Linked DNA regions of Homo sapiens: regions 1, 2, 3, 5 and 6 are each linked to region 4. The links are contacts of gene promoters, found by promoter capture Hi-C in blood cells and fetal thymus (Javierre and others, 2016). All regions are on one chromosome and are shown on one strand. Each heading gives the region's core, a stretch centred on a gene start or on the middle of the fragment in contact. The rest is flanking DNA. Distances are from core to core; before and after follow the strand shown.

Region 1 (3,611 bases), core at 619-3,118, 640 kb after region 4:
AAAAATGTCGGATGTAGTTTTCTCTGTCTGGAGAAGAAGGCTGATGAATGATGCTACTAATGAATAAAAACAGAGGTCCCTTCTATCTCTATATAGGTCAAACAGAAAAAAATGGGTCTTGATTGCAAGAGAAGAGATTTAGGTTATTTTTTTTTAATTCTTAATAATCCTGCAGTGTACAATACCAGATAGTGGGCTCTTCTTTTTCTTTAGACAACTTAAGAGCAGGATGGGTCACACTTCTGTTGTGATAGGGCTTTATGGCAGAGAAATAATCTGAGACTCAGAATCTCTTTCTGTTTGGCAACATATTTTGGGTATTCTTATTCAATATCCAAACAGTCAGAGTCAGTGAAAGGCTTCCAAGAGCAGTCAGAAACTTGGTAACTATCCTGGCTTACTTACATCCTTTCAATAACACTTGCAAGAACCTTGAAGGCCAGGGTAGGTAATCACAGATGTCAAGTCGTCTATTTTCTTGCCTATTTGTCTTTGACAAAAGAGGTAGGTGGGAACCCTAAGCCCAATGCACAGGAAAAACAAATTCCCTTTTTATCTCAGAAGTCCAAAGATGGCTCAGGGCCTCATGGGAGCACCCTGGACTGATTCCCAGCCTAGGAGGTTTCCTTTTCAGAGACTTTTCATGAGAAAGGAAAATTCTTGCTAAAGCAATAAAGGGAAACTTCCATTTTAGCTCTCTTCTCTGAATTCCAGCTCTGTATCCACTTTTAACACACAGGGCACTAATTCTCCCTCTTCGTCCCATCTTTCTGGTTCTCTAGCTCCTGTGCAAATCCTCCCTGAAGGCTTTACCTCTAGCTACATATCTGGACACTTGTCTCAAACCCTTTCTCCATCTCCCCCAGGTAGCAGAGTCTCTTAATGGGAAGCCTCTTTGTGCAGAGCCCATTGGGCCAGCTGTAAGTTTTTCTATACCACTGACAGAAATCCGTGGAAGTGCTAGCAAAAATCTCAGCAAAGGATGGGATGGGTACCTGTCCTCAGCTTGCATTTCCTAAGATATTCACGCAGAGCCAGCACCTGGGCGGTTAAGGTGGTAGCCCTAACCTCGTTTCTCCTGGTTCCAGGATGATCCCATGCCCACTGCAGTGTGGGTTCTAGGGCTTTCATTTCCCCCTTTTCTTCACACATATGGGTAGCAAGGGACCTGCAAAAGGAAGTTTCTGCAGCCAGTGCTGATGAACAGAAAAGGGGCCATGTTATAAAAATGAGTAGCCCAAGGGCACACGGACGAGTTGGCTCCGTCCATCAGAGAACCCTGGCCCCTGCCACGGGTAGGGCATGGGCGGGACGGGAGCCTGCTCAGGGGTAAGGTTGCTTCTTCCCTTCTTCTTGTCACAGTGCCCCTGGAAAGGGTCAGATTTCAGAGAATCCGAGCAAGGCAGAACTGGAGCAGGGGAAGTGAGGTCAGAAAACAGGTTTCCCATGAGCTGGGGCATGAGCAAGTGAAGAGAAAGGGAGCCACGGGGTAACCTGTGCGCGAGTGACAGCGGCGGGAGCCCGCAGGGCCTGACAGTTGCGATGGGCACGGGGAGACAGGGCGAGAGGCGGGCACAGAATGTCAGCGGGGCAGACCCCCGGGAAAGGCAGCAACCCGGAAGACGCGCCGATCCTCCTCCCAGCCCCTATGGGTGACCGAGCCCCCACCAGCCGCCCCGGGAAGCCAGGCGTCCCTCCCTCCAGCCGCAGCTCCCTCCGGCCCGGCTCCACTCACCCCCGGTAGGCTTGGCCCGCGGCCCGGTGCCTCCCTCCCGGGCGCCGCCTGCCCCTCCCCTCCGCCCTCCGCTTGCGTCTGGGAGCCGGCGGCCGGCGGAGCCAGCGACAGGCGGAGACGGCGGCCCGGCAGGCGCGGGCGGGGCGGGGCGGGCACAGGAAATCCCCGCCCGCTTCCGGGGCTCTGCGGCGGCGGAGGTGCGGGGAGTGGGAGGGAGAGGAGTGGGAGGGAGAGGAGTGGGAGGGAGGGAGGGAGGGAGGGACGGGAGGGGGCGGGGCTGCGGCTCAGGCGCCCCCAAACGCGAACCCGGGACCTCCGCGCCCGCCGCTGTGGGGAGGGTGCGGCCCGAGACGCTTGGAGGGCGGCGGGCGCCGGAATCGCAGCCTGCTGTGGCCACTTGCCCGCACTCTTGCCTGACTGACCATTTTCCGCTCTGGCTACTGGGCCTCCCACGGAGTTCTGTCCTCAGGGTTCGTCAATTACCTGGAATTGCGTAACCGCCCGTTACAGGCCAGACCGAGGCCGAGAGCGATTTCTCCAGACAACAGTCTGGAATTCCTCAAGGAGCGTACCCTCTAGTTTTCACGATAGGATAAAGGGCTTGAGAGAGCACTGAGGAGGAGTCACTTATTCTGCCTGAGGGGAAGTCAGGTTGCTATCTGAAGTTGGCCTTGCGGCTGCTGTCCCATTTGCGGGAGCCGTAGCCGCAGGTGACACCTGAGCTCTCGAAATGTGGCTGGTCTGAATAGAGATGTGTTCCAAGATTTAGAAGATTTAATTTAAAAAGTGATATTTTGGGTATATTGGGTTAAATATATTAAAATTAATTTCACCTGGTTTTAACTTTTTAAATGTGGCTATAAATATGGCTTGCATTATATTTCTATTGGATAGTGCTACCTTGCAGCATTAAGATGGATTTGACTAGAAAAGATGAGAAGGGCCTACAAACAGTGAGTAAACCCATTGCTGTTAGAATCTGTTTATAACCTACAAGTCACATTCACATTCCTTATTTCATCATTACAACAATTTTCAAAAATTTTATTTAGTAGACTTAAAAAATAATTGACTCACTTAAGGTCATATGTGACAATCATTCGTTTAATGCATATTTATTTTCTACGTGTGCCAGACACTGTAACTAAATGCTGGGAGTTAAAGGATTCACAGTCTGGGGAAGCACATGTCAACAAATATTTGCAATAAAAACGTAGATTCTAAAACAGAGGAACGTACGCTGCACTTGAAGCAAAGAGAAGTGACCACGTATGGGACGGAGGTCAGAGAAGGCCCCCCACTCTGACAGAAATCGTGAGGCAGAGAAGAGTCAGGAGGGCTGTCTAATGAAAGAGGAAAATGCAGTAGACACGCAGTTGGGAAGAGTATAGAGCATATTCTAGGAGCAGATCATGGGATATGTCGGGGTAGTAGTAGAGCCAGAATTTTTATCCCGGGTCCTGGAACTAAGTCCAGGGGTTCTTTTCACTTATGCTACCACTGGTGGTAAATATAAGGTGCGTTAATTGGAGTAGGCTAGCAAAACCAGTATCTCGGGGCTTAACTCCATAAAGGCTTATGTTCATACAAGTCACAGTGTGGTAACAAGTTGGTTGGGGCCAGAGGGTGGGGTCTGTACTTCTTGAATTCATTGAAGGACCAGGCTTCTTGCATTTGGTGGTTCTCCCATGCCGAGGCCTTGGTAATGTAGTCAAATCTGTGGCCCTCAGATAAGGGAGGCTGGCCGTGGTTAACTTGTCAGAGATATTAGGGGCCAGTCCTGGAAGTGGTGTGTATCATTTTCACCCCATTCCCTTAGCCAGAACTCATGCGCATGGTCACATGGCCCTACCCAGAAGGGTGGCTGGGAAGTAAA
Region 2 (3,578 bases), core at 543-3,042, 660 kb before region 4:
TTTAAGTGCCTTTTGGGGCTGAACAGAGATCTGCAGTTGATTTGTTAGCTGGCAGAAGTGTGGACAGTGAAAATTGCAAATTGATTTTTTCTTGAAGGGTCAGCTATTGGCTCACATTTTCAGGTAATCAGTTATGATGCTATCAAATAAAGCCACTTGCAATAGTGGCCATCTAATAATAACAAATGTAGATTACCCCACACATTATTTAACTCTCTAAAACACTAGCTTGTGGCTGCAGGTACAAAACTCCAGTGAGAAAATCTTGCAAAAACATTTGGTGCAAAATCAATGATAAAATCTTTCACAGCATTTTAAGAGTAACTGTAAGAAGAAAGCAATTGTAGTTATTCATTTAATCGTTTTTCTAAATAGAGTCTACACATGAGCTGAACTCTTCATTTGGAATGAAATAATCCTTTTGAAAATTTTACTCTGCATTAGATTTTATCCCAAGTGGCCCAAGAAGCACTATCTAATATGACTAACAACCACACATCTATAACTAGTACAACTCCAACTATAACTTTGTAGGACCTATTGAAGTGGTTGACTTATGCTTATTAAAATATTAAATAAGAATGAAACCAGTCATTCTTTGGAAGATTCCAAATAATGTTGTAGAAACTTCTATTCATTTATATATTCCAAGATATCTTCCATAAAGTGGATAAGATTTTTAAAAAGATGTAAAAGGACCAATTTTGAGTGTGGCCCAACCAGACTCAATTCTGGAAATCAATTCTTACACATTATCAATTATTCATATTAATATATCATTATATATATATAACTTTTTACACTGATTTATTTATTTTATTTGACACTATAAAATAAAGCAACCTAAAATAAAGTCAGTATTGCCTTGGAGAAATATTCTGTTAATCTTTCCATTCTGAAAATGAATGCCATAGGAGAATGACGAACAACAGAAAATTTATTAGCGTAATGAAAGAAAATTTAAAGTACTCCCCTAAATGCATAGAAGTAGACTATGCCCTGAAACTGTTTTTGAGTAGAAACTTTCTGAATATTGAGTTACAATGGTGCATTTGATCTAACAAAAAAGATGAAAATATAAAGAATTAATTGTCTCAATTCCAGAGAATATTGTATATAGTTGTGTATATAGTTGTGAAAAAACTGGACAGCACTTTTTTCATATTAGTTCACATTCACAAAGTTCATAACAATACAATATGACTCATAGTTGTTCATTACTAGGACCTTGAACTACAAAGAAACCCGCAGAATATTCCTTGGCAGCTCTGGCTTCATGGATATATGACTTTGCATTCATACACGAATCTTAAGCTTGGAAAATCAGCTGAGCGCAGTGGCTCACACCTGTAATTCTAGTACTTTGAGAGGCAGAGGTGGGCAAATCACCTGAGGTCCGGAGTTCAAGACCAGCCTGGCCAACATGGTGAAACCCCATCTCTACAAAAAATACAAAAATTAGCCAGGCATGATGGTGTGCGCCTATAATCATAGCTATTCAGGAGGCTGAGGTGGGAGAATCACTTGAACCTGGGAGGTGGAAGTTGCAGTGAGCCAAGATTGTGCCACTGCACTCCAGCCTGAGCAACAGAGCAAGACCCTGTCAAGAAAGAAAGAGAGAGAGAGAGAGAGAGAAAGAGAAAGAAAGAAAGAAAGAGAAAGAAAGAAAGAAAGAAAGAAAGAAAGAAAGAAAGAAAGAAAGAAAAGAAAGAAAGAAAGAAAGAAAGAAAGAAAAAAAGAAAGAAAAGAGACCCTGCAGTACGAAAACTGAACTGTGATTTATCCATATGTTATGCCCCTCTATTTCATAAATATTAAGAAAAATCATTTTGACTGTGATTAAATGTATATATACTGAGCCAAATATTTTTCTTTCAACTATTTTCCCTTCCTTCCCCCTTCTTCCTTGGATTTTTTTTCTCCTTAACATTGACTATGGTCTATATATATGTGTGTGTAGGTCTAGTACTGAGCTCTCTATGATGTTCCATTTACCTTTCCTTGTGCCATATACAATGTCTTAATTACTATAGCTTTATAATAAAGTTTGATATTTGATCATACAAGTTCCCATCTTGTTCTTTAGAACTGTCTTGGTTATTTTTGGTCCTTTGCTAGTCTATATAAATTTTAAAATCAACTTGTGATGTTGGGATTCTAGGAGTGTTAATCAATTCATGAAAATTAATGTCAATACAATATTAAATCTGACTATCCATGAATATGGTATATCTCTTCATTTGTTTAGGTTTTATTTAATGTCGTTTAATAAAGCTTTATAATTTTTACCAGATATGGGCTTACACATCTCCCACTAGATTTTTTTTCTCTTGGATAAAATATTTATTTTTATTGTAATTTAAAATAGTATAAATATTTTTAAAGTTTTTTACTTTTTAAATATTTGTTTACAGTTCATTTTTGAGGTAAATATACATACAGTAAAATAGACAAATACAAGTGCACAATTTGTTGAATTTTGACAAATGCAAACAAACGTAGAGGTAAGAATGTTTTACATAGTATAATCTTTTTAATAACATTTTTAGCTGATCATTGCTGGTGTATAAAAATGCAATTTCCTTTTTATTTTGTAGACAATTATACTACCCATAAATAATGACCAGTTTGTTTTGTTTCATTCTAACTCCTAATTCCTTTTATTTTACTTTTTTATTCACATTACTATACCATCTAGGCCATTTAGTAGAGTGTTAAACAAATGTAGTAATAATAAACATCTTTACCTATTTTATATTAAACTTAAAATTTTTCACCATTAAGTATAATATTGCTGTAGTTTTTTGATAATATTTACACGTTTAAGAAATTTTTCTTCCATTATTAGTTTGCTTAAGATTTTCTAAACCATAAACGGATATTAAATTTTATCTAATACAATGTGTCTACTTAGCTCATTATATAGCTTTCATTCTTTAATATGTTAATGGTGCAGCGGGGTGCGGTGGCTCACGCCTGTAACCCCAGCACTTTGGGAGGCTGAGGTGAGTGGATCACAAGGTCAGGAATTCAAGACCAGCCTGGCCAACATGGTGAAACTCAATCTCTACTAAAAATACAAAAATTAGCTGGGCGCAGTGGCAGGTGCCTGTAATCCCAGCTACTTGGGAGGCTGAGACAGGTGAATCACTTGAACCCAGGAGGCAGAGTTTGCTGTGAGCCCAGATCGTGCCACTGCACTCTAGTCTGGGAGACAGAGTGGGACTCCATCTGAAAAAAAAAAAAAAAAAAAGAAATATGTTAATGGGGCATGAGTTGGTTAGCCAACTGCACAGTTTGAGGTGGCATAGTCCACGCAAGACTGTCCTCACTTTTGACAGCAATTGCAAGTTTAGGGGCTTCCTAAAACCACCTTCAGGTTACCTAATCCACAAGGACTCCTGGAACTCACTAAAAGTTGTTATAATCCAGGTTAGAGTGTATTACAGGAAGGATACAGATTAAAGTCAGTCAAGGAGGGGCACCTAGAGCAGAGTCCAGGAAAAGTATCAAACATGTAGCTTCTGTTTTTCTTTCTCCATGGAGTCCTGGACACATTACTTTTCAAATATCAAAGT
Region 3 (4,021 bases), core at 267-2,766, 620 kb before region 4:
GAGGAGGTCGCGGGGAGGGAAGTCGGGAACGTTTCCTCTCCACAGGGATATCTGCTGGGAGGAAGTAACCGGGAAATCGCCACGGGGACACCCCTCACCTCCCTGGGAAAGTTCTATCCCTTTCCTGACTCAGGAGGCGGCAACAGGGATGGTGTCCAATTCAAGAAGGAGGAGGGCAGGAAAGAAGGCTTGGAGCCGACCTTCCGGCTGGAATGCAAAGATAAGAGTATTAACCCAAATAATAATAATAATCCCAGAGCAGACCTTTTTTTCTTTTTTCTCTCTTCTCCTTCCCCTCTTCTCTCTCCCTCTCTCTCTCCCTCTCTCTCCTTTCTCTTTCGTTCTCTCTCTCTCATTTCCTCTGTCTCTGTCCCCGCCACCTCCCCGTCTTTTGCAAGCGTGCTCGTGGCGCGTGCGGGACAGGGAAGTAAGGGGCGTGTGCGCGGAGGCTCTTCATCCCTTCCGGAGATGCCGCGGCCGACCAGCGCGCTTTGGTTCAGCAAGCACAGAAGGTGCAAGCCGAACAAGGCCATTCAGAAATGAGGTGGAGACTATGAGGCTGATGAGCTCTACGATTAAAAATCCATTTTTGTTTAATTCCAAGATAAGTTTTAACGATGGGATTTGAGTGAGTCAGATCGCCCATTTGGCCATTATATCCGGATTAAAAGAAATAAATTACTGCCTTGACAAAAGATGCCAACCACAGTGGAATGAAAAGCAACCAAATTGAGGAAACAGTTGGGGCAGGATAGATAACTTGTAATATTACTTAAAAATAAAAATGATGAGGACAACCAACTCTTCCTCCCCTCCCCCGCGCACCTTTTCACTTGAGCAATCTTGAATTTAGTGAAAGTTGTTTCCTACATGGTCCGTGAGTCATTGCTGTGGTCAGGCAGATTTGTTAGACCAACACCTAATTTAAATAGAATTGTTTGTGGAATAAAGCCGGGCTAGCACTAATAAATCTAGGCATTTTCAGATGAGGACAACTTGATTCAGATTAATTTATTTCATGAAAGTTGAATTTTATCATAAGAACACAGCCTAAAATGCTTCATGCAAGCATTTCTTACTGTGTACTTAAAGGGGAGAGGCAGAAGTTGAGATTTTCTAGTATTAGGCCACACTTCCTGGGATTCTCAAAAGCTTGGTCTCCAGGACTTCAATTTTATAGAGTTAGAATAGTTAATACAGAGGAATAGAATTAAAATCGCTCAGAGGAATATTTTTTAAATGACTAATAAATGACCAGGTTTTTGCAGGATTTTACTAATTAACATCGTATTTTAAGGAAACCATGAAGGCAGAAGAAAGACCTGTATTTAATGCAAAAATAGTCTAAAAAGAATAAGTGATTCAAAAAAATGGAAACAGGAAGGTTATATTATTATAACTACAGGCATATTGTAGAAACATTATGCAGAGATTACACAGCAAAAGTAAACTAAATGCACTCAAAATCCATAGACAAGGCTATTTATCCATTTGAAGACCTGATTTGGGGGATTTCACATGTTTGTGAAAGGGAAGAACGTTGTAAAAGGATTGAGTTTACTAGCTGGGAGGAAAGAAAGATAAGAGTTGATCTTAAGGTATAAGACGTGACCTTATTTTGTGGAGGATAACATTTTTATCTTTCTAGCATCCCTTCTCCTTCTAACAGATTCCCTCTTTCCACTAGAAGGTAAATTCCAAGAGGATAGCAGTTTTATCTGTTTTGTGTATTGCTGTATTCTCAGCTCTCAGAACCCTGCTTAACACATTCAATAAATTTTTGATAAATGAACTGATGAACAGGGAACCTATTCAAAGTGGTTAAGATAACGGTTTACCCCAACTGAATCTGCTGGTTGCTGTCCTGCCTTTTATGCTTTGAAAGCTTGTCTTAAAAAAAAGGAGAAGAAAGAGAAAGAGGAGTCCTGTAAATGTTATTTGAGTCCTGGATCTGGTAGTACCTGAAGGCCACTGCATACTTTTACTTCCTTTTTAATTATATTTTCCACCCCACCCCCTTTTTTAGCTTAAATTATTTTGAGTTGCATGTCACTTGTGACGGACAGAGTACTAACACATGTAATGATGGTGATAATAAATATGTACTGAGCCTTTATTATATGCCAGACACTGAGCTATGCGTTTTACATGCATTATTTCATTTATTGCTCACCACAGCCCTGTGACATTATATAATCCTATAACCCAGATGGTAAACAACTGTGTTCCAAATTATTTGAAAATGAAATGGGATGCAATTATCTCAAGGTTCTATTTGAAGGATTTAGATTAAACAGAAGAGAGACGTTTCTGCCAGGGTGGTTCCAACCTGGAATGGGTTGCCAAGACAGATGGTTGAGTTGCCTTCTCAGGAGTTTAAAATAGGATGCGATAGATATTCCTCTGGCCTCTTCCACATGACATAATACATTGGAATTTTTGACCATTCAGTAATGACTCCAAGGGATAGTAGAATGTGGCTTGACACTTGACATAATTCTGAATCTAGTATGCTGAGAAGGGGGTGTGGTCATGTGAGTGTCTAGCTGGGTTTGGAAATACTATCTGCCTGAGGCAGTAATTTGAGGTGATGAAATCACAGGAGTTCTAGCCCTGTAATTTCCACAATTTCTCAGGTTGTAATCAAAGATTTAAGTAATTAGAGATATGAGACAAGAAATTAATAGCACATGTTTGATGATTCTAAGTCATTTTTACTAATAATTAACACTTCAATAGCACTTTATGTCCTAAGAAGGGCTTTCACATTCTTTATCTCCTTTGACTCTACCACGCGTCCTGTAGTCAGGTGGAATTTATACACTGGCAGATATCTTGTTGCCTCTTTTTTCGGCGTGAGGCACACTGGGTGTTCTTTGGAGATGGAGCTCACTGGGGTCACTGATTGCTGCATGCAGGAGCTTCCTGTGGAGTTTCATCACTCTGGCGGGCAGCACTCTTAATAGGATTTTTACAGTGTAACTTAGCTTGAACCCACAAGAAAAACATACCTTTGCCCAACAACTATGGAAGTGCACTCAGCTCCTACAGCATCCTGTTCTTCTCTTGGCCTGCTCCAGTTGGTTTTTGTAAATTGCCTAAGATTTTTTATAGAACCAGATCTCTCACCCCATCCTGTGTCTTTCATTATATGGAGATACATTTTCTGGGAAAACTCAGACTCCAGCTCCTGTGCTTTCTGAACTCCAGGAGGCATGGGTCAGCTTATGGCATGTTTCTCTGGACGCTCCCTTTACTTGGCTGGAAATGGGGGGATAGAATGGGAGTATTCAGTATTCTGCAGGAGGTACTGCATGTCCTCCCCAGGAAGAGCTCACAATGGGGCTACTCTTTAAGCAGTCTCCACTCACTCATCTGGTTGGTCTGTCTCTTATCTTCATTGACATAGGCCGGACAGTTTTTTGTTTTTTAATTCACTTGAGATAAAATCCACATGACATAAAATTCACCATTGTAACAATTTTAAAGTGCGCAGTTCAGTGATTGTTTAATATATTCACAATACTGTGCAACCATCACCACTATCTTAATTACAGAATACAGATGCTCCTCAATTTACAATGGGATTACATTCCAAAAAAAACTCAATAAATAAGTTAAAAGTGCATTTATTACACCAAATCTACTGAACATCATAGTTTAGCCTAGCCTGCCTTAAATGTGCACAGAACACTTACACTAGCCTACAGTTGAGCAAAATCGTCTAACACAAAGTCTATATTATATTTAAAAAAGTGTTGAATTGCTCATGGAATTCATTGAATACTATACTGAAAGTGAAAAACAGAATGATTGTATGGGTACTTGAAGTATGGTTTCTACTGAATGTGTATCACTTTTGCACCATTGTAAAGTTGAAACATCCTAAGGCAAACTGAACCATCATAAGTCAGAGACTGTCTGTATTTTCATCACCCCAAAAAGAGGTCCTATGCCCATTAAGCAGTTACTCCTATTTCCCTTTCTCTCAGCCCCTGGCAACCACTAATGTACTTTCTGT
Region 4 (4,138 bases), core at 1,027-3,526:
ACTTGAAATGGCAGGCCATGAGGTCTAACCTATATTCTGAAAGTTATGTGAAAATATCAAGGTAGTAAAATAAAAAGAACTTGATGACTGACTAGACTGAGGTGTTGGAGAACAGAGAAAGACTCAAACAGTGGCCTAGATTTCTGGCTTGGGACCCCGGTAAGATTACTGATGCCATTTTGAGTCAAGAAATACAATGTTAAAAGGAAAAGAGGCATCAAAGTTGGAGGGCAAACGGAAAGTCAGATTATTTGTTTGGGATATGCTGAATTTGAGTGCTAATGGGGCGAAGAGATACCCCATAGGTAGCTATGTAGGAATAGAGATAAATTCCGGTGTCACTAGCAGAAAGGTAGAAGCTAGAATCAAGGATGTGGCCATGTTTAACCATTGTGACAACTGGGGAATGGGGTGAACCTGGAGAACACTAAACGGAGAAAGAGATGCCAAGGAAGAAAAAAGTAGGCAGTAGCACCTAGACAGTTGGGAGAAAAACCTAGAGTGTACTGTTACAGATGACAAAAAATGAGTTGAAGAAAGTGAGAGGTTAGCAGTGCCAAATGCCACAGAGGGAAAGAAAGTGCATTATATTTAGTCATAAAAAGACTATTCAGAGTTTTTGTTTTTTTTCTTGAGACAGAGTCTTGCTCTGTCGCCCAGGCTGGAGTGCAGTGGCGCAAACTCAGCTCACTGCAACCTCCACCTCCTAGGTTCAAGTGATTCTCCTGCCTCAGCCTCCCGAGCAGCTGGGATTACAGGTGCAGGCCACCACGCCCGGCTAATTTTTGTATTTTTTTTTTTTTTAGTAGAGACGGGGTTTCACCACGTTGGCCAGGCTGGTCTCGAACTCCTGACCTCAAGTGATCCGCCCACCTCGGCCTCCCAAAGTGCTGGGATTATAGGCATGAGCCACCGCGCCTGACCTCTATTTAGAGTTTCAATAAGATTTTTTTTAAAGGGTGGAAGGCCAACCGCAGGTGGCTCATGCCTGTAATCCCGGCACTTTGGGAGGCAGAGGTTGGGGGGCAGGGGGAATAGCTTGGGCTCAGGAGTTCCTAGATCAGCCTGGGCAACACTTCGAGATCCCCATCTCTACTAAAAACACAAAAATTAGCCAGGCGTGGTGGAGGGTGCCTATAGTTCCAGCTACTCAGGAGGCTGAGGTGGGAGGATCGGGAGATCGAGGCCACAGTGGGCGGTGACGGGCCCACTACACTCCAGCCTGGGACCAAAAAAAAAGGAGGGGGGGGAATGAAATGAGTTACGTAAATGAGATTATATGGAGATTACAGTACATTTGCCTTTGATAATATAAGACTTGTTCTTGAGCATAGTCTGGGGAAAAAGCAACAAAGTAAAAGATACAGGAAAAAGGATGAGTGATGGGGCAAAATCTCCAAAAAGGTAGGAGAAGAGTCAAAGCTTTAGGCGGAGGGAAGAGAAGTAAGGTGGGAGGGAGAGAGACGGAATTAGAAAAACATTTGTTTAGGACAGTGAAAAATACCTCACTAAGAAGGGACAGTTGCAGATGCAGATAGGTCTTCTGACTCGTAGCCTCAACAACTAAATTAGGTTTAAGCTTCTTTCAGGCAGTGTCCATGTTTGACCATATATGCACAACTCATTCAAAAACAAAACTAGTACAACGCTTTGTTGGGAACTCAAATAAATGAATAAAAGCGCAACAAGTCAGTGAGATGCTGACGGGGGTTAGATGCTTTTCCATTTCACCCATCACCGCTGCTGCTCGAGCAGGCCCAAAAACTCTCCCAGGGACCCTGCGATGGGGCGGGGGTGCGAGCCAGCAATCAAAAACTTCCAGCGCTGGGGGTATCACTTTCACACCCGCTGTCCCGGCGAACACCGCACACCCACGCCGCAAGGGGGCGGGCCCCACCTCGGTCTTTGCGGGAGGGCGGCTCTGCCTTCCCGAGCACTGCAAAATCGCAGCAGGGTGGAGGGTCCGCCTGCAAAGCAGAGCGCGCAGGCCCGGGTTGCGGGGGCGAGCCCCTCCGGGAACGCGCGACCCGAGACGCCGCTGCCCTGGACACCGACGCGCCGCCTCAACGCGCGCCTCCACCGCCAGCCCCGGCCCGCCCCGCCTCACCGGTACCCATAACCGCTACCCCTCCTCCCACCGGCCACCCCAAGGATCTCCTACGCTGCTCCGGGCAGCGAGAACCGCAACGCCCGCTCACCTGACCAGGCCGTAACCCGCCGCACTGCCACCCCGTCAGCCCCGCAGCGACTCACGCCGAGCCCGGCAGTGACTCACGCAAAGCCCCGCCTCCTGCGCTTCCCCACAAGCCCCCGCGGCCTCGCCCCGCCCCCTTTAGCCTGGGCTTGAGCGCGCGCAGAAGTCAGCTTCGTGACTTCCTTCTCAGGATGGAACCAGCTTGGTGGCTTGAGGGTATGTAAAAGCAATATCTGAGCCTTCTGCCTGCTTCCAATATGACTAAGCTTAAAAGGAGATAACCCAAAAACTGCAGGATCATCCTGATTTTCTGATCTCCAAAACAATAAAACCTTGAATATTTCCCTGGACTCCCTTAAACAGTTTAATCCCTAATATTTACCTTGCTAATCTCTGACCTTTGTGACATTAATTTGTCTGACCTTTGTGAGTATAATAACCATGTGAGAAAGTTACTGTTTTTCCACCATGAACAGACTACTGTCAACCGGTAATCCTGGTAATTTTAGGGGATTTTTTTTTCCCTTTAAGTACTGGTTGGCAAACTAGTCCTTCCGTCTAACTCCTCGCATCTTTTGCAAGTAAACCCCTTTTCTAAGTGAATCTATCTCTGAGTCTTTCTTTGACATGTGCCAGTGTTACAATCTGTCTTTAGATATGCTCTGGCTTACAGAGAAAAAAGAACGAAACTTTTAACACTTTTTGCTTCTGCTTCCCGTGTGAGGGAGTCTTCGTTGCAATGACAACTCTTAAACGAAAGCAAAACAAAAATAATTGCAGAAGTCCACAGAAGCAAACACAAACAAATGAAACTTTCCATTTAAAACAGGACTGTAACCTCAAATATCCTCAAAATCCAGATCGGTGGTTCTCAGTCTTGACTGAGCTTTGGAATCACTTAGGGAGTATATACATATACACGTGTGTGTGTGTGTGTGTTTGTGTCTGTGTGTGTGTGTGTGTGTGTGTGTGTGTGTGTGTGTGTGTGTATACTGATTTCTGTGTCCTATCCCAGAGATTCTGATGTAACTAGTCTTGAGTGAAGCCAATCAGAATTTTTTAAAGCATAGGATACGGCTGTGCATTTGAAGCTGGAAGCCACTAACCCAGGCGCTGATCAATGAAGAACTAGGCTGGAGTGCTGTCTTACAAGGTCATATCATTAGCACATCCTTCCCATTGCTTAATTATTGGTATCTTTATATTTTAAAATCATAGTAGTCAAATCATTAAGTGTACGTCAAAATATTTACTAATGAAATGATTCTTTGGTTGTATTAGGGAGATAGAGAACTGACTTTTAATAATTTTTTTATTAAGTATTTAAAAGCAAATATTGATTTACTGGTGTTTTTAACAAAAGCAACCACATTTGTTTTATTAATTCTGACAGAGTTGATTGAGAAGAGAGATAAGGGGGCTAGCTGGCTGCTCTAGTAAAACCTCATAGACCCTTAGGTGACCCTGCTTTTCTCTCTCTTTTTCTCTCTCAAACCATACAATAATCAGAAGTAGCTTAGTGAATATAGAGTCAAAGTGAGAAAAGTTAATCAAATGGTTTTGATGGTCATCATCACCTAATTCTGAGGCTCCTGCTGTCCCACAAAACCTGTGCCTGCAATGGCAGCCTTCTCTCCTGTGAGCTCAGACCTAGGCCACCTTAAGTTCTTTCCTAGATTCCTTGCAGACCTCCCCACTTCTATTGGCAGTTATCTTTAAATGGATTTCAACAAAATGTGTAAATAATGCCTTTCTTTTAAGTCTCTTTTATTCATTTACTCCAGTCATCTCAATTGAACTTATCATTAATACCTGAAGAGTTATTTTCAAAGAGACAAACCTCTTTATGTGTTTTATGTGTTGCAGTTGTAATGGTCAGTGGAAATAAACAGGAGTGTTTATTATTGCAACAATAAAATGCTGCAATTAATGATTGTAAATGCT
Region 5 (3,775 bases), core at 681-3,180, 980 kb after region 4:
CAGCCTCCCAAGTAGTGGGGACTACATGTCCACGCCACTATGCCCAGCGAGTTTTTTAATCTTCTGTAGAGACGGGGTCTCACTGTATTGCCTGGGTTGGTCTCCAACTCCTGGCCTCAAGTGATCCTCCTCCCGTGGCCTCCCAAAGTGCTGGGATTACAGGCATGAGCCACTGCGACCAGCCAGGGACACAATTTTAAAACTATAAGATACGTAAAAAATTATCTAGTCAGGTTATGTTTTTGCATGGATACCTTTGCATACATGATGAAAACTATGAAGCCTCTTACAGAAGAATACACACATATATAACTTTGCATGTTATTTAACAAAATTCATGGACAGCCAAATAGAGCCACACACCCCTCCATTAAGAAGAATTTTAGGGGCCAGGTGCGGTGGCTCACTCCTGTAATCCCAACACTCTGGGAGGCCGAGGCGGATGGATCACCTGAGGTCAGCAGTTCAAAACAAGCCTGGCCAACATGGTGAAACCCCGTCTCTACTAAAAAGTACAAAAATTAGCCGGGCATAGTGGCGCACGCCTTAAGTCCCAACTACTTAGGAGGCAGGAGAATCGCTTGAACCTGGAAGGAGGAGGTTGCAGTGAGCCGAGATCTCCACTGCACTCCAGCCTGGGGAATAAAGCAAGAATCTGTGCGCCGCCCCCCCGCCAAAAAATTAACTTTAGGGCCGGGCGCGGTCGCTCACGCCTGTAATCCCAGCACTCTGGGAGGCCGAGATGGGAGGATACCTTGAGGCCAGGAGTTTGAGACCGGCCTGGTCAAAATAGCAAGACCCCATCTCTCTTAAAAAAAAAAAAAAAAAAAAAAAGACTAATTTAGAATATGCCTTTATTTTACAGATAAGGGAAAAGAACCAAAGAGGTGAACTAAGTAATCCAACTCAAGGGTCTTTCCAGTCTTCACCGTTTTTTCAGTTTTCCAAGGATACAACCATAACCCCAAATTTACAAGGACAAAATCTCAAACGCGGCAGCTATGCTGAAGCCCGCATCATATCACATACCCCCTCGCTTTAAGAAAAACGACATATATATCTATACATATATACCCATCTTTCTTCTCTGGCTTTGGGGCAGCATTGGGACATCTTTTTCCATTCTTCGTCGATATATAACTACACTGCTTGAAGGGTGCATTCTTGTCTTCAAGGATATGCTTAATGCAAAACTCCTGCCCCTCCAGACGAGGGTGAGAGCATGGACGATGAGTGAATGCACAAGACAGAGGTTCCTGAGACCTGGGCACTGGAGTGATCCTCCCCCGATTGGTTGGCAAGACGTGAATCCGAATCCTGTTCATAACCAAAACCTGCGGGGTCAAACGAAAGACCAAAAAGCCCTTACCCTTCCCGAAAATTCCTGCTCCACACAGATCGCGCGGACAGTTTCCAAAGGACATGCAGAAGTCGTCCCCGTAAGGTACGCTCCGTAAGTCCCCGCCGCCCTCCCCAAGTCTCCACAGGCATCTGTGGCTTTGCCTCCCTTTAGCGTGTCCCTCCATGCCCGGCCCCACCCCGAACCACACCACGCTGAATGTATCTTCAGGACTCGCACAGCTGCAGCACGAAGGGAAGCGACAACACCAGCCCCACGCGGCGGCCACGCCGCCTCCCCGCACGCCGCCTTTGTCCCGGCCTGCCTCAGAGCGCACGACTGGGCCTGGCCTCGGAAGCCTATGCGAGCGCCATTTTGTCCTACGGCTCCAGTCACCGGAGATCCTGGCTCCTGGAAGCCTGCAGGAAGGAGACTGACTCTGACACTGCTTTGAGGCGGAGTAGCAGCTCTGAGCTGACAAAAAGAGCGAAATAGCAGCCCAACCGCAAGAGCTTAGAGGAAAGAGCACCGCCATCTTACCTCAGGAGCTGCGCTGCGCCGCACTCTGCCGCGCCGCTCGCCCTTCTCTAGTGGCGCCAGCGGCTCTCAGATCGGCCTCGCCCCTTTCCGGACTCCTGGCTACTCATTGGCTACCGCTCGTATGACAGGATGTCGCCATTGGCCGAGACCAACTACCTATCGTGTCTGGGAGGGCGGAGCGCTGAGAAAATGCGAGGTTGGGGTGGCTAAGACAGACTGTCTGTCAGCAACTCCGCCCGGAGGAGAGTGAGCCGGGGAAGGGGGCGGAGAGCGGGCTGCGGGGCGGGTTGCCAGCTAATATTTTTCCACCTTGCAGCGTGGCTCGTTTTCCGGCTACTTTTGGACCCTCAGTCTGTGGTCCTAGGCTGCTGTTCCCTCACCACTGTACACAGCTAGTATAAAATCAGACAGACAGGCCGGGCGCGGTGGCTCACGCCTGTAATCCCAACACTTTGGGAGGCTGAGGCTGGCAGATCACCTGAGGTCGGGAGCTCGAGTCCAGCCTGAGCAACATGGAGAAACGCCGTCTCTACTAAAAATACAAAATTAGCCGGGCGTGGTGGTGCACGCCTGTAATTCCAGCTACTCGGGAGGCTGAGACAGGAGAATCTCTTGAACCTGGGAGGCGGAGATTGCGGTGAGCCGATATCGCGCCATTGCACTCCAGCCTGGGCAACAAGAGCGAAACTCCGTCTCAAAAAAATATATAAATAAAAAATAAATCAGACAGAGGCTGGAGGATCACTGTTTACACATAAAAAGTCTTTAGCTTTCTTTTGTGAACAGTTCAATACATGTACTGAACATTTGGTATAGAGAACACTGAGAAACATTTTTTGGGTGTTTACTGATTCTGGGAATTACATGTATAAAGTCATTGAATTTTTCAAAGCAACCCTAAGAGGTACAGGTTAGTATTATGTCCATTTTACAGATAAGAGGACTGAGGAACAGAATGGGACCATAGCTATTAAATGGGAAAGGAAGACGAATTTGAACCCAGCCCGCATTCTTTATCCCTTATTGCCTCTTATATAGTAAAGAGCATTGGACTGAGAATAAGGAAATATTTGTTCTAGTTTAGGGCTGCTTCTCATAACTGTGTGCCCTGTCTTTAAAATTCCATGCTAAATAATGCAGGTATCATAAAAATGACAGACACAATACCAATCATACCATCCTTTAAGGATTTTTAGTTTAAAAGCATCTTTCTGTCATCTCCACCACTTGTAGAAATGATTCCTAGCTTTCTTCCCATAACCCTTCTAGACATTTTTTGCTTTCCAGCATCTCTTATCTCCTCACTGTCAGTTTAAGAAAGATGTTTTATCCATGCCTAACGAGCAAGTGAGCATGAGTCCCAGTGGAAGTGAACATAAAGATTCCACAGCCCTCAAGAAAAACACTAAGGCTGGGCGTCATGGTTCACCACTGTAATCCCAGCACTTTGAAAAGCTGAGGTGGGAAGATCACCTGAGCTCAGGAGTTCGATCCCAGCCTGGGCAATATGGAGACACCTCATCTCAAATAAATAAATAAATAAATAAATAAATAAATAAATAAATACACTATAGGACCGATAAATTATTAAAAAAAAAAAAAAACCTTGGGGGTTGTGCTGTTTCCAGAGACTAGAGCAGCCCTAGAAGAAGGCCTGAAATTCATTCATTCAACGAATATTTATTGAGCACCTAAGTGCCAGGAGAGAACAAGGAAGATAACCCTGCTCTCTTGGAGTGAACATTCTAGGATAGCTTTGGATTATGGATGCAATACAAACATAATATTAATAACAATGATTTATATACATAAGCAAACAGACCAACCCTCAGGAGTACGAAAAAAGATGTTTTGTTATAAACACCCTATAATTAAAAAACAGCCAGAGGCAGTCAT
Region 6 (4,126 bases), core at 353-2,852, 690 kb before region 4:
ATCATGCTACAAACATCTTCAAGCCTTTTCACATGCCCTCTGGATGTCCTCCTCCTTTTATGCCTAGTAAAAGCATCCAAATCCTTCCTGGCCTCACCCAGTACCACACAGATTCTACAGGCAGAATCAGGTTATATCCTAGACTCTCATGATTTCAGAGGCTTAAGCTCTTCCTCCCACAAAGTTATCCCATCATGGGATTATGCAACACAAATTATGACTGAAGCAAGAGGCAAACAGAAGCCCAAGTCCCACCTGGCTCAGGTTTCTCTGCACCCCACCCAGTCCAGCTGAGCATGACCACCTCTGTTCACAAGGTGCTCCTACACACCACCATCATCGGTGTTGGTCTTCTAAGTTTCTCAAAAGAACCCAAGGCTAGAAGGCCAGACTCAAATTTAGAATTCTCAGACTTCTTGAAGATCCACCCAGGAATTTTAAGAACCTACCATCACCTGACTTTTCCTCCATACCGGCTCTGCCCAGTACTGTGAGCATAGATACAAGGATATCTCAGCCGGCATGTCCAAACTCAAGCCACACCACCACCACCATTACCTCCTCCAAGCACCATCTCTTGGAAAATGAGACTATCTGGACAAAAAATTCCCTGGCCATGGATACTTAGAATATGGTAGAAAGGAGGCCACAGGATGTAGGTGGCCACATCTCTGTGGTCCCAAGACTCCTTGCATTATGGAGAGAAGTGTAGCCACCTGCACCCGGGTCTTCTGACAAAAGGAGGGGGCAGAAATGGGAGACGGGGAAGTTAGGATAGCATCTACGGACAGGGGCTTCTCTTGTCCTGATTTAAGACGATCAGGCAGTGGTGTGTCTTCAAATAAAAACAAAGACAAGTCTCACTCTGTGAACTGTTTGTCTCTCTAGAACACTGGATCTCAACCAGGGGTGATTTGTTCTCTATGGGATACTTGGCAATGCCTGGAGATATTTTGAGTTGTCGTGATTTGAGAAGATTGGGAGTTGCTACTGTCATCCAGTTGGTAGAGACCAAGGATGCTGCTAAAACTCCTACAGCACATAAGACAGTTCCATCACAACAATAATATAATATTAGTTTGGTACATTACTTCTAATGGCGAAAACCACAATTATCTTTGCACCAACCTAATAATAATAATGGAAAACATTTTCTAAAAGTTAATTTGTAAATTGGTTATATATAATATTGTTGTCAAGCAGATCTTAAAGCAATGGTTCATGTCACTTAACTGCACAAAAGATTTAATCACACACACACGCACACATGTGCATGCATGCATGCACACACCCAGCTTATGAACTAAAGTTCAACTTTCTAAGCTTGACATTCAATATGACTCTTGATCTGGAGCCTACCCTGTTTATCAATTTAATCTTTCTCTATGATCTCCTTATGTAACCCAAAGCCTGTGTCTATGCTACTATCAGACTTAAATATTTTAGACTGCCATATGGCTATCTCCCATATTTTCCCTATCAATTTTTGGCATACTCAACCCCATTCCTGATAGTGAATTAAGTCTTCAGCTGGACCTTCTAATGTAAAATGTTCAAATTCAGAAACTAACTACACTTAAAACAGAATTACCCACTAGAATACATCAAGGCTGTACCACTAAGATAATAATAACTAGCTCTTGGGATTGGAAGGATAAGACAACGATACCATGTATAAATCACTGTGAAGATGTTACCATTATGATGTCCCTACCTCATAATAGCACTCAATGAAATGTCTGTGTCTCTCCTATAATTAAAAAGGCATTCCAAGTAGGAAAATAGCTTTTGCAAATAAATTAAAGTAAGGCTATTTACAGTAAAATAATAATAATAATAATAATAATAATAATAATAATAATAATAATAATGTAGCACAATAGAAGCTTATTTCTCACTCACATAAAATCCAAAACAGATGTTCCTGCTTGGTGGCAGGAGTGGAAGGTCGGCTGTGTGGATGAAGGAAGACTGCTTCATAGCTTCACGCAGAGCCGTAGGCTGGAAGTCTCCATCACCTTCCACATGTGGCTTCCATGATCATCCTGTGTGTCAACATCCAGTGGGCAGATGGGAAAAGAGAAAGCACAGGGTATGTGCCACCACTTCTTAACCACTTGGCCAAGACATGGTACACATCATCTCAGCTCATATTCCACCGGCAAGAACTAGTCCCACCTGGATGCAAGGGAGGGTAGGACTGGAAAATGAGGGCCCTGGCTGGGCAGAGCTTCTCAGCAACAACGCTACACTATGGAAAGGACATTAGCTATCTTTACCACAGCAAAGCACAAGGGTATAGGAGATGAAGCAAAGACAGAGAGCAGTGGGCAGGCTTGCCTGGCTAGAATATGAATTGGAGCTTCGTGGCAGATGAGAACGGTTAGGTAAGGAAAGACAGCCAGATAACAGGAGACTCATGACTCTATCATTATGAATGTTTTCTATTTGAGAGACAGCTGTGAATCCGACCTTGAAGAAGAGTTATTTGATAAATAATGATGTTTAAAACAGACACTGTAGCCACAAAGTAATTTTTGTTTCATTACGAAATGAATCTGGTTTTTATTCAGGCATATCTTCCTTATGTGGAAATTCATAACTTTAAAAACGAATCATTGCATCACTAAGAACTCTTTTCACAGCATTCTCTTACCCCTTCCAAGTACCCTTTTCAATCAATGTGCTTTCTCCTTCCTTCAATTGCTTCTATGGGCTTGCAGAATCTGCTGCTGTGTTTGTTCCTTTGCTGTTCTCCTTTAATTGCTGTCTCTGCTGTGTCTGGTTCTCCTCCTTTCTTTTGGCCCAGACTATTTATTTCTAAAACCCATCAGCATTCTGTGAGGGTTAGGATTCATTTCAGAGAAACTCAAGGGAATTACCTCTGGGTGATTTTTCAGCCCAGGTATTTGGGGCAGTTAAAATGTCATTTATTTCTCTAGACTTGCATGATGTTGTGCAAAACATGAAATTAATCTTAACTACACAACATTCAACTCTTGACATTTCAAGACCTTTATTAAAATGTTGAAATAGAATTTTCCTTTAAATATGTTAATAGAAGAGACTTGTTGCTTTCCCTATGTGATAACTTTCTTCAACTCCCACATCATCTTTCATTACCCAGAGAAACACACCTTTGATTTTATAACGGAAGTCAATGGAAAAAAAACTTGCTATATAGAAATACACATTTACAGTAAAGTTTTTTATGCTGATATTCACTCAGTAATAGAATGTATACCCATATAATCTATTGTTCTAGCTTTCCATAGATGTCAAAAATGTTGTCAGCCTGATGCTAGAATATCACTGCTATTAGTGTGCCATCTAGTGGCTGATGTTGTGATATTTTCCATTCTTTGTTGAGGTAGAAGAGGCTTTAAGTGACATATGGAAAGTCCAGTGAGATTCCTTCTTTGATACAATGCAGGGATGACACAGTTGTATAAAGCCAATGGCCAAATGTTGAGTCATCTGATGATGTGTAGAGGATCGTTTGTAAGTTCTTACTTAGCCAATATAATTAAGAAATGAAGCTATTACAAGAACAATTAAATATATTTGTTAGCTCGCTGTATCATGATGCACAAACCATATGTGCATTAACCATATACCAAGAACCAGAATACAATAAAATGCATTTGACCCTAAATTTAAATTAGATTTAATTTTACTCTTGTTATTCAGATGGTACTTTAGGATCTTATAGGTCTAGGCTTTGAATACTAATTCTCATTGTGTAGTATACAAAAATGTATGTTTGAGCTTTCTGGTTGCTTGGATTTAAAACTAAAAGTGGTTTTGTATTTATAAAGGATCAAACCTATCATGCATAGTGTGAGTGGCAGCATATCCACCATTTTAGTTGATTCTTTGTAGTATTATAACCATAATCGCATGATCTTATATATTGCTTTATTCCAATATTAAAGATTGAGAGATAATGATAATGATTTTATCTTTTAGTTATAGAATTGCCTTCAAATGCCTTGTTTTATAATCATCTCAAAGTCAAACAAGAGATTCCTTTAATCGTTACATCATTTTTCATAGGCAAGTAATGAGGGACTGAATGGTTTTGCTGTTGAAGACAGAAGGACAAAAAAGTAAAATCATATTCTCC

What was found. Contacts are between HindIII fragments. The CHiCAGO score rates a contact against its expected background, and 5 or more counts as called.
Region 1: the fragment with the promoter of ZNF641 here is called in contact with the fragment with the promoter of RPAP3 in region 4 in 7 of 17 cell types (fetal thymus, non-activated CD4 T cells, activated CD4 T cells and 4 more); the score reaches 13.9 in fetal thymus.
Region 2: a contact is called between a fragment that was not itself captured here and the fragment with the promoter of RPAP3 in region 4, in 1 of 17 cell types (naive CD4 T cells). The highest score is 6.1, in naive CD4 T cells.
Region 3: a fragment that was not itself captured here is called in contact with the fragment with the promoter of RPAP3 in region 4 in 5 of 17 cell types (erythroblasts, M0 macrophages, naive CD4 T cells and 2 more); the score reaches 7.1 in erythroblasts.
Region 5: a contact is called between the fragment with the promoter of KANSL2 here and the fragment with the promoter of RPAP3 in region 4, in 1 of 17 cell types (fetal thymus). The highest score is 5.5, in fetal thymus.
Region 6: a contact is called between a fragment that was not itself captured here and the fragment with the promoter of RPAP3 in region 4, in 1 of 17 cell types (activated CD4 T cells). The highest score is 5.4, in activated CD4 T cells.

Annotation. Positions count from the first base shown.
Region 1 is chr12:48,349,051-48,352,661 of GRCh38, forward strand. It overlaps ZNF641 (zinc finger protein 641), which reads right to left and starts at 1,869. Exons shown (of 6, transcript NM_001172681.2): 1 at 1,736-1,869. RefSeq lists enhancers at 1,380-1,449, 1,888-2,624 and silencers at 1,590-2,019, 2,300-2,379. The HindIII fragment of the contact is 6,093 bases long and covers 1-3,611 here.
Region 2 is chr12:47,040,253-47,043,830 of GRCh38, forward strand. No RefSeq gene overlaps it. Among named protein-coding and RNA genes, the nearest start is that of PCED1B, 38 kb to the right of the region's middle. The HindIII fragment of the contact is 960 bases long and covers 1,313-2,272 here.
Region 3 is chr12:47,080,493-47,084,513 of GRCh38, forward strand. The region is part of intron 1 of PCED1B (PC-esterase domain containing 1B); the gene reads left to right. Among named protein-coding and RNA genes, the nearest start is that of AMIGO2, 2.5 kb to the left of the region's middle. The HindIII fragment of the contact is 733 bases long and covers 1,151-1,883 here.
Region 4 is chr12:47,703,754-47,707,891 of GRCh38, forward strand. RPAP3 (RNA polymerase II associated protein 3) reads right to left here and starts at 2,277. Exons shown (of 17, transcript NM_024604.3): 1 at 2,199-2,277. It overlaps RPAP3-DT (RPAP3 divergent transcript), which reads left to right and starts at 2,335. Exons shown (of 4, transcript NR_183480.1): 1 at 2,335-2,410. RefSeq lists enhancers at 1,491-1,992, 1,993-2,492, 2,213-2,507, 2,439-2,588 and silencers at 1,739-1,828, 1,859-2,148, 2,219-2,298. The HindIII fragment of the contact is 881 bases long and covers 1,578-2,458 here.
Region 5 is chr12:48,680,308-48,684,082 of GRCh38, forward strand. It overlaps KANSL2 (KAT8 regulatory NSL complex subunit 2), which reads right to left and starts at 1,931. Exons shown (of 10, transcript NM_017822.4): 1 at 1,880-1,931; 2 at 1,075-1,334. The coding sequence starts at 1,325. RefSeq lists an enhancer at 1,629-1,898 and silencers at 1,979-2,188, 2,229-2,278. The HindIII fragment of the contact is 8,142 bases long and covers 1-3,775 here.
Region 6 is chr12:47,018,084-47,022,209 of GRCh38, forward strand. No RefSeq gene overlaps it. Among named protein-coding and RNA genes, the nearest start is that of PCED1B, 59 kb to the right of the region's middle. The HindIII fragment of the contact is 563 bases long and covers 1,322-1,884 here.